2 separate regions of the Homo sapiens genome follow, and region 2 is linked to region 1. Evidence: promoter capture Hi-C in human tissues and cell types (Jung and others, 2019). All regions are on one chromosome and are shown on one strand. Each heading gives the region's core, a stretch centred on a gene start or on the middle of the fragment in contact. The rest is flanking DNA. Distances are from core to core; before and after follow the strand shown.

Region 1 (4,662 bases), core at 1,723-4,222:
AAAGAAAGAAATGTACACACTGAGGAATAAATATACGTGGAGAGAACGAGCTACAGGGCGATGATTTCCTAGCTCAGCCTTTACTAGGTAACTACCATGAACGAGGCACTGGAAATACAGAGATAGAAAGGAAGAGATTCCCATACAGAAAAGCAGCATGACATGCACATACAAACACAACACGACCCAGTGGCAGCTGACGCATACATGGTGTTCTGGAGCCCAGGGAAGGAAACTTTTGTACAGAGTATGATCAGGGAAGAATTCATAAAGATGGTGTCATTCTTACTGAGATTTGGGGATTAACAATTCATCAAATGACAAGGACCCCTGGAACATGGAAATATAAAACAACTTGGTGTTTTTGAAAAACCGCAAAGCGTTATGGTGTGGATGTAACACAGGGGTGTGGTGTCAAGGCGGAGGATAAGGCTTGGCCAGGTCAATAACCATACATGTCAGTGTCCCAAAACATGGACTTGGCAACAAAAGGAAAACAGCAGCGTAGTGAAGCCAAAGAGACAAATGACAGCAAGGCAGAGGAGAAACTGAGGCAAGAACGAAGGCAAGGAGACCAGGTGAAATGAATACCAAGGTCTACATTAAGTGGCAATGAGAATAGAAAGATGAAGAATAAAAAAGAAAAGAGCCAGGAGGATTCGGTGACCAACTGAGAGAGAAAAGGAGAGAATCACAGGCTGCCAGGCTGTACAGCTGAGTCGATGGTACTGCCACATATGAGTAGAGGGAAAATGAAAAAGGTAGGTTAAGGAGGTAGATAATTTGTTTTAAATCCCTTAAATCTGAAACATGTGTGGCCTCCAAATGAAACTGTCCCCCTACCAGGCATACAAGCCTAGAGATGTTGGCTGGAAACAGATACTTGGAAGTCATCAACATTTAGGTAATAGTTGAAGCTGTGGGTGTGAAAGAGATTGTCCAAGTGAAGTGTACAAAGTAAAAAAAAAAAAAAGAAGAAGAAGAATGAAGGGACCCCACAAACAATTTATTTAGAAAGGAAGAATAAAGAATCAGAGAAGGAAATGAAGAACCACCAGTGTTCCAGGCCCAGTTCAAGGCCTGAAGAATATCTTGTCTAGGGTGGAGAATAGGAGTCCTCGAAGGAAACAAGAGGGAAATGACATCGCCAAATGAGAGGCGGGGAATAGTGCTACCCAGGTAGGCAGTGGCCTTGTCACTCCCCTTGACTGTCAAGGAACTGGGAGATCCCACTCTTGTGTGCTATGATGCACTGTCTACGAATATACAGTGATAGGTATAGCAGCTAAAGAGTCTTTACCTCACCCTTCAAGAAGTCGACACCCCAGCCACCAGGGATACACTTAGGACACCTGACCTGCACCTTTCTGGAAGATTAAGTGTACCTCCTATCCAAAACAACTGAGTCTCACAGCCTCAGAGGTTGCTAGATCTGGCTGAGATCCTTTCATTGGAAACCCTTTTATTCAGCTATAGTGCCAAGACGCATCCTCCACACCCTCTTAGGACTACCACACCAGGAGCCCAGCAGACACTTACCTTAAACTTAGGGACTGGGAGGGAAAAGTCTCTGTTTTTGGACCTGACATGGCAACGGGGGTCTTGGAGGTCTTCGACTGGTATATACTTTGAGTCCTAGGAAGGAAAGCAGCAGCAGAAAGAGAGCTCAGGGTGAATCCAGGCTAGGGAGCTCCAAGCAGCCCATCTGGACACACACATGCAGAAGAGCTGGGTCCAACTGCCCACTTTCAAGAAGGCAGGCTACCGTTCTAGGTGCTGAACAGAATCACAGAGGACGGGCGCCTGGAGCTCCCCGGATGGCAACCAAAGACCCGGGCACTCACGTTGACACTGAAGTGGACTCCATCATAGCGGTACACCTTCTGAGAAGGCCTGCGCAGGGCAGGGTCCAAGGCAGGATCCACGATGAGCTTGTAGTTCCGCCACTGGAAGCTCGGGGCCTTCTGCCCATCTCCCCCACCTTCCTGATCCATCTTTGCTCATTTACACTGTTAGGGGAAGAGGGACACGCAAGAAGGATCAGGACTTGGGGCCTGACTCCCCTGCCTTTCCTCATTGGCTAGCCCCGATTCCAGGTTCTCCCATCACTCCAGTTTCCAACCCTCACCCTGACCCGGGGCTCCCCCGGATTCTCCCCCAAGTACCCTCTGTTTCGCCACAACAACCCAGCCTCTTTCCACCTCCCAACTCTACTGTCAGGCCCCCAGGCCCGTCTCGAGCCCCCTTACCTTCCCGCTCTCCCTAGCGCGCGCCCCACTTGGCCTCGGAGCAAGACCCCTCCCCCGCCCCCTGCAGGCCCCGCCCCCTCCCGCCTCCTCACCGGCCAGCGGCCCGGGCCGAGCCCGGCCACGGCTCCCACACACCCGCTCTCCTCCCCGCGCCCCGATCCTCCGGCCGAAAGGTGGCACCTCTTCGGGGCGTTGGAAACACCGCGAGACCGAGCCCGAGACCCGGCTTCGACCCCGAATCCGGGCGGGGGGGTGGGGGGAACGTGCACCGCTGCCCTCTCCTCCCGCCCCGGCGCGTTCTGCACCCCCCCCAGCAGGTCTCCGCGCACGCGCGCCGCGCGGCCCCACTCACCCGCTCCCGGCGAGCGGCTCCCCCTCCCCCCACCTCGCGCGGCACCTCAGCGGCGCGAGGCGGCGGCAGCGGCAGCGCGAGACCCGGCCCCGCAGCGGTGGCGGCGGCGGCGCCCCCCCACCACCACCTCCCCGGCGCGCGCACCAAACACCACTGCCACCTGCGCGAGGCCCAGCGGGCACAGGGTCTGCATTCGCACTTTCGCCACAGGCGCTGCCGGGGGACCCACGGGGCCGAGGGTAGCGGCTTCGCCTCGGCCGGCGCCCTGGGAGGCTCGGAAGTTGCGGCCCAGGGAGCTTGGAGATTGGCCGCATCCCCCGGAGAGTCGGCTTCGCCACGACGATCTAGATGCTGCGGCCCGGGACCTTGACGAATCGGCGGCGACGAAAGCTGCGACTAGTCCCTGAGGAAAAGGGGCGGGGCGGAGGGGAGGAGGCCAGCCAGCGCTGGGGAACCTTCAGTGGCGCGTTCTGCAGACGCAGATTCACCGGGCGGGCGGGGCGAATCGCTGGACAGGATGCGCGCCGCTTTGCTTCTCTTCCCCGTCCCTTCCTTGCACTGCCAAATTCTGAGAGGCTGCAGATTCGCCACTGTTCCCGGCCTCAGCCGTAGCCTCCCCTTCATCCGCCTTGGTGGAGTCAAGAAAATAACGGCCCGTTAGCCAATCCCTGCTGGCAGAGTCGACAACTTTTTTTGGATTTTTCTTACTGGCCCAAGTGAGAGAATAGCCCGCTTCTGTCCCTGGGGAAAATGCCTCCAGCCCAGCGCTCCTCTCAGAGTCCGATGAGAATTTTCAGCCGAGTATCGAGGGACCCGAGGAATTCTGAGGATCCGACCTGGCGAATCTGCGGATTCCGCTGTGGGCGGGGCCGAGTCAAGGGGCGGGGCCAGGGCGTGCAGAGCCTGGGACTAGGGGGCGCCTCCGGGAGGACCCACGAGGACTCACCCGGATGGGAGGGACGGCCGGGAGGTGGAAAAACACAACCGTGAGCGGTGACTCAGGCGGTTTGCCCCGCCTCGCACATAAATGCAGGGTACCTTTCCTTCCCGTTATTGCCCTTGGGTGTCTGGCTGCTTAGGATGCCCATTTGCCAGATGGGGAGAGTGAGGCCTGTAGAAGGTGCCCTACTTTGCCGTACTCAAACCCACCATTAGTGGTTAAATCCAGGGACCGCCTCAAGGTTTTCTGATGAGCCTAGTGGGGCCTAAGTGCCCTTAAATGGGCCTTGTAATAATAAACGAGGTCCTACAGGAACGGGACTGGACTGGTGTGTCCTCCTGGCGTCATGGTCCCACTGCCCGCTTCTTTGGCTATGGCGCCCTATGCTCACGGGATGCCTCCGCACAAGGGCAGCAGCGGCCCAGGCCTACCCCTGGAACTCGGGCTGAGGTTTCTGAAGGCTGGGCACCGTTTTGATCCCGTGTGGGCGCAGGCACTCCCAGGAGGTCCCTTTTCCTGAGCTGAGGATGCCCCAAGCTCCTGATATGTGTACATCAGGCCCTCGCTATATGGCCTTGGGCAAGTCATTGACCTAAGTTTCAGAGTCTTCCTTTAAACTTGGATGTCAATTTGTACACATCCGAACAGTGCAGAAAAGACCCTTAGAGCCTGGTTTATGCAAATTCACCATTTTAAGTAATAGGAAAAGGTGGAAGGGAGACTTATCCAAGGTCTCACACCACAAGATAGAAGAAGATTAGGACTCTACAATTTTGAGGGAAATAAGGCTGAAAAAAATAATTTACGTGGAGGCATAGGTGTTGAGATCAGATTCCTTTCTGTTCCAGTTGAAAGGCACTGGTTCCTTTTCTCAAATCAAAGAGAGATTCCCGTGTGAGGGGTAGATAGTCCAAGTTCAGTTTCATGGACTAGCTGTGTGGTTTTGGGCAAGATCTTCAGCCTTCTTGGGCCTGTTTCCTTATCTCTGAAATGAAAATGATAAAGACTTAACGCTTAAGGTGTTGTGAGAGTTAAATAAGATAACCTATGAAAGTCCCCTAGTATGTGGTAGTTGCTCAAGAAAGAAACTTGAGGCCAGGTGCAGTGGCTAACACTTGTAA
Region 2 (4,966 bases), core at 916-3,415, 280 kb before region 1:
CTGTCAGATTAGGAGAAAACACTTGCCACACATGTATGTAGCAGAAAAAAAAAAAAGTATGCAGATATATAAAGAACCACAATAACTCATGAAGGAAAATAAGCAGCCGGGCGCACGGTGGCTCGTGACTGTAATCCCAGCACTTAAGGAGGCTGCGGAAGGTGGGTCACTTGAGGTCAGGAATTCGTGACCAGCTTGGCCAACATGGTGAAACCCCTTCTCTACTAAAAATACAAAAAGCCGGGCGTGGTGGTGCGCGCCTGTAATCCCAGCTACTCAAGAGGCTGAGGTAGGAGAATTGTTTGATCCTGGGAGGCAGAGGTTGCCGTGACCCAAGATCGTGCCACTGCACTCCAGTCTGGGTGACAGAGCGAGACTCCGTTTCAAAAAAAAAAAAAAGCCAAGGCATAGGAACAGACCATTTTTAGAAGAGGAATTATAACTGGTCAATAAATGCATACAATGAGAAAAATATAAATTAAACTTTTAAAAAGCCATGTGATACTATTTATTTATTTCCCATCATGTTGGCAAAAAGAAATAAGAATTTGAGCTTGATAATATTGAGTGCTCCAGCATGGCCAACATGGTGAAACCCTGTCTCTACTAAAACTACAAAAATTAGCCAGGCATGATAATTTTAGCCAGGCAAAAATTAGCCTGAAATCCCAGCTACTCGGGAGGCTGAGACAGGAAAATCCCTTGAACCCAGGAGTCGGAGGTTGCAGTGGGCCAAGATTGCACCACTGCACTCCAGCCTGGCAGCCTGGGCGACAGAATGAGATTCTGGCTCAAAAAAAAAAAAAAAAAGAGTGCTGGAGAAGATTTGGAGAAACTATATTCTCGTACGGTGCTGTTTGGAATGCAAATTGATAGAATTTTTGTTTACAGCCCCAAAGCTGAGGACAAAACTGATTAATACAAAGCCCCACATTCTAAACCGAGCCGCAGACACACCCTTTAGGATTCCTAGTGAGAGAGCAGGTCCATCTTGCTAATTTCCACCCTCATCACCCACCTCAATGAGACAGCTGTGGTGGTTCCTCACCTGCCCCCACAGGGACGTCCCACACCTCAAAGCAAGTGAGGAGGTTGCTCCAAAAGAAGCCCTGACCAGCCTGGGCAACATACTGAGACCCCATTTCTACTAAAATTAAAAAGTGAAAATTAGCCAGGCAGGGTGGCGCACACCTATAGTCCCAGCTACTTGGAAGGCTGAGGCGGGAGGATCGCTTGAGCCCAGGAGTTGGAGGCTGCAGTGAGCTGTGATTGCACCTCTGAACTCCAGCCTGAGTGACAGAGACCTTGTCTCAAAAACAAACAAACAAACAATACAACAACAATTAAAAAAGAAGAAGAAGAAGCCCTTGTGGAGATTGGAGGCGGCTCTCCTGGGCTGCAGGAACCGGAAGGCTCAGATGAAGGCTGACAAGAGGTTCTTAGGAGAACCTGATGCAGGCCCCTGAGTGTGGCATCCACCAGTGCTGTCATCCAACCCAGAGGATTCTGGAGGAGGAACGAGAAGGTCCGGAGCAGCCCGAAGGGGCCAGACAGGGAGAGAGAGGAGGGCACGTCCTTTTGGATAGGTGAGAATAAATGAGACCCCTAGGCCTGGTGAATGCCAACAAAATGAGCGGGCTCTAGTGTTGTGGCGGCCCCTGCCCTAAACAGCTGCCTACCCTGGCAAAGGGACGGGCAGTGAGAGGCTGCCGGGAGTGGAATCCCCTGGGGCAGGGGCAGGGAGGAAGGACTGAGGGGTTGTCATAAGAGGCCAGCCAGAAAGCGTCTGCCTATACCACCTCAGAAGAAGCCAACACCTCCCAGGAGAGCACATGACAGGTGTCACAGATCATAGACACACCAATCATGTGTCACCCAGCCCCTTTTCCTCTGATTAACCTTGACCTTGAAGGAGCCAGCAGAGAGGAGTGGGGAGGGTTCCTTCACCACTTTAGGTCACCTTATTTATATTTACATTAAAAAAAAAAATACTGGGTCTCCTTCTAATTGCCCAGGCTGACACGTAGTGGCCCAATCATAGCTCACTGCAGCCTCCAACTACTGGACTCAAGCAATCCTCCTGCCTCAGCCTCCTGAGTAGCTGGGACCCCAGGCGAGCATCACCATATCCAGCCTTTTTTTTTTTTTCTGGAGAGATGGGGTCTCACTATGACTGGTCACAAACCCCTGGACTCAAATGCTTCTCCCACCTCGACCTCCCAAAGTGCTGGTATTATAGGCGTGAGCCACCGCGCCTCACCAGGTCTCTTTAAATTGGATGTGATATTAACTTTGGAACCGTGCTGGGCTTTTTTTTCATATCTGAAAATGAGACTCCCAAAGTGCAAAGCTATCCTCCCACCTCAGCCTCCCAAGTAGCTGAGACTACAGGCATGAACCACCATGCCTGGCTAATTCTTTTTTGAGATAGAGTCTTGCTCTGTCACCCAGGCTGGAGTGCAGTGACACAATCTCTGCTCACTGCAGCCTCTGTCTCCTGGTTCAAGTGATTCTCCTGCCTCAGCCTCCCGAGTAGCTGGGATTACAGGTGCCCACCACTGCACCCAGCTAATTGTATTTTTAGTAGAGACGGGGTTTCACCATGTTGACCAGGCTGGTCTCGAAATCCTCACCTTGGGTGATCCGCCTGCCTCGGCCTCCCAAAGTGCTGGGATTACAGGCATGACTCATCATGCCTGGCCAAAAAAATTTTTTTTAATTAAATTTTAAAAATAGGCCGGGCGCGGTGGCTCACGCCTGTAATCCCAGCACTTTGGGAGTCCGAGGCAGGTTGATCACGAGGTCAGGAGATCGAGACCATCCTGAAACCCCATCTCTACTAAAAATACAAAAAATTAGCCGGGCGAGGTGGTGGGCGCCTGTAGTCCCAGCTACGCGGGAGGCTGAGGCAGGAGAATCACTTGAACCTGGAAGGCAGAGGTTGCAGTGAGCTGACATCACACCACTGCACTCCAGCCTGGGTGACAGAGCAAGACTCTGTCTCAAAACATAAAACAAAACTACTCACTAAACTTGACAATATTACTTCTGATGAGGAGGAAAAAGAAATAATCAGCACTGGGGGTGTGGTCAAAGGAAACCTTCCCCTTATCTGTAAGATATAATTAAGTACAGACATGCGTTGTTTTATTGTAGTTCACTTTATTGCTTTTCATGGATACCGCATTTTCTGCAAACTGAAGGTCTGTGGCAACCCTGCGTCAAGCAAATCTATTGGTGCCATTTTTTCAACAGCACGTGCTCACTGCACCTCTCTTTGTCAGATTTTGGTAATTCTCACAATATTTCAAGCTTTTCATCATTCTTCTATCTGTGATGGTGATCTGTGATCAGTGATCTTTGAAGTTACTATTGTAATTGTTTTGGGGTACCACAAACCTCAACCATAAAAGATGGTGAACATAATGGATAAATGTGTGCATTCTGACTGCTCCACCAGTCAGTGGTTCCCCTCTCTCTCCCAGTCCTTGTGCCTCTTTATTCTCTTAGACACAACAATATTGAAATTAGTACAATGAGTAACCCTAGTGTCCTCTAAGTGTTCAAGTGAAAGGAAGGGTCATGTTAAATCAAAGGAAGCGTCATGTTAAATCAAATTATTAAGCTTAGCGAGGAAGGCGTTTCAAAAGCTGAGACAGAGGCTGGGCGCAGTGGCTCACGACTGTAATCGTAGCACTTTGGCAGGCCGAATCGGGTGGATCACCTGAGATCAGAAGTTTAAGACCAGCCTGGCCAACATGGTGAAACCCTCTCTTTACTAAAAATACAAAAATTAGCAGGGTGTGGTGGTGGGCGCCTGTAATCCCAGCTACTCAGGAGGCTGAAGCAGGAGTATCACTCGAACCCGGGAGGCGGAGGTTGCAGTGAGCCAAGATCATACCACTGCACTCCAGCCTGGGTGACAGACCAAGACTCTGTCTCAAAAAAAAAAGGCTGAGAGATAGGCTGAAGGCTAGGCCTTTTGCACCAGTTAGCCAAATAGTGAATGCAAAGGAAAAGTTATTGAAGGAAGTTTAAAGTGCTACTCCAAGGCCTGGCACAGTGGCTCAGCTAATAATTTCAATACTTTGGGAGGCCAAGGTGGGAGTATCACTTGAGCCCAGGAGTTTGAGACCAGCCTAAACAACATAGCGAGACCCTGTCTCTAAAAAATATTTTAAAAATTTAAAAATTAGCCAGCATGGTAGTTCACACCTGCAGTCCCAGTACTCAGGAGGCTGAGGTGGGAGGATCATTTGAGCCCAGGAGGTCCAGGCTGCAATGAGCCGTGATTGCACCACTACACTCCAGCCTGGACAACAGAAAGAAATCTTGTCTCAAAAAAAAAAGTGCTACTCCAGTGAACGTGAATAATAAGAAAGTGAAACAGCCTAATTGCTGATACGAAGGAAGTTTGAGTGATCTGGATAGAAGATCAAACCAGCACAACATCCCCTTAAGCCGAAGCCAAATCCAGAGCAAGGTCCAAATGCTCTTCAGTCCTATGAAGGCTGAGAGAGGTGAGGAAGCTGCGGAAGAAAATTTGGAAGTCAGCAGAGGTGGAAGTCAGCAGGGTTCATGAGGTTTAAGGAAAGAAGCAATCTCCACAACATAAAAGTACAAGGTGAAGCAGCAAGTACAGATGGAGAAGGCGCAGCAAGTTCTCCAGAAGATCTCTGATGAAGGTGGCTACACTCAACAACAGGTTTTCAATGTAGATGAGATGGTCTTTGATGGAAGAAGATGGCATCTAGGACTTTCAGAGAAGTCAATGCCTGGCTTCAAAGCTTCAAAGGACAGGCTGACTCTCTTATTAGAGGCTAATGCAGCTGGTAGGGCTTCAAGGTGTAGCCAGTGGTCATTTACCATTTGGAAAATCCCAGGGCCCTGAAGAATGATGCTAAATCCACCCTTCTTGTACTCTAGAAATGGAACAAAGCTGGGGTGACAGCACATCTGTTTACAG

What was found. Contacts are between HindIII fragments. The study calls those that stand out against the background at their distance.
Region 2: a fragment that was not itself captured here is called in contact with the fragment with the promoter of SETD1A in region 1 in 2 of the 25 tissues and cell types used here (lymphoblastoid cells and spleen).

The regions. Positions count from the first base shown.
Region 1 is chr16:30,956,064-30,960,725 of GRCh38, reverse strand. It overlaps SETD1A (SET domain containing 1A, histone lysine methyltransferase), which reads right to left and starts at 2,972. Exons shown (of 19, transcript NM_014712.3): 1 at 2,762-2,972; 2 at 1,845-2,009; 3 at 1,540-1,635. The coding sequence starts at 1,994. RefSeq lists silencers at 2,264-2,353, 2,494-2,713 and enhancers at 3,314-3,443, 2,901-3,664. The HindIII fragment of the contact is 8,587 bases long and covers 1-3,889 here.
Region 2 is chr16:31,236,450-31,241,415 of GRCh38, reverse strand. No RefSeq gene overlaps it. Among named protein-coding and RNA genes, the nearest start is that of ITGAM, 21 kb to the left of the region's middle. The HindIII fragment of the contact is 6,547 bases long and covers 1-4,966 here.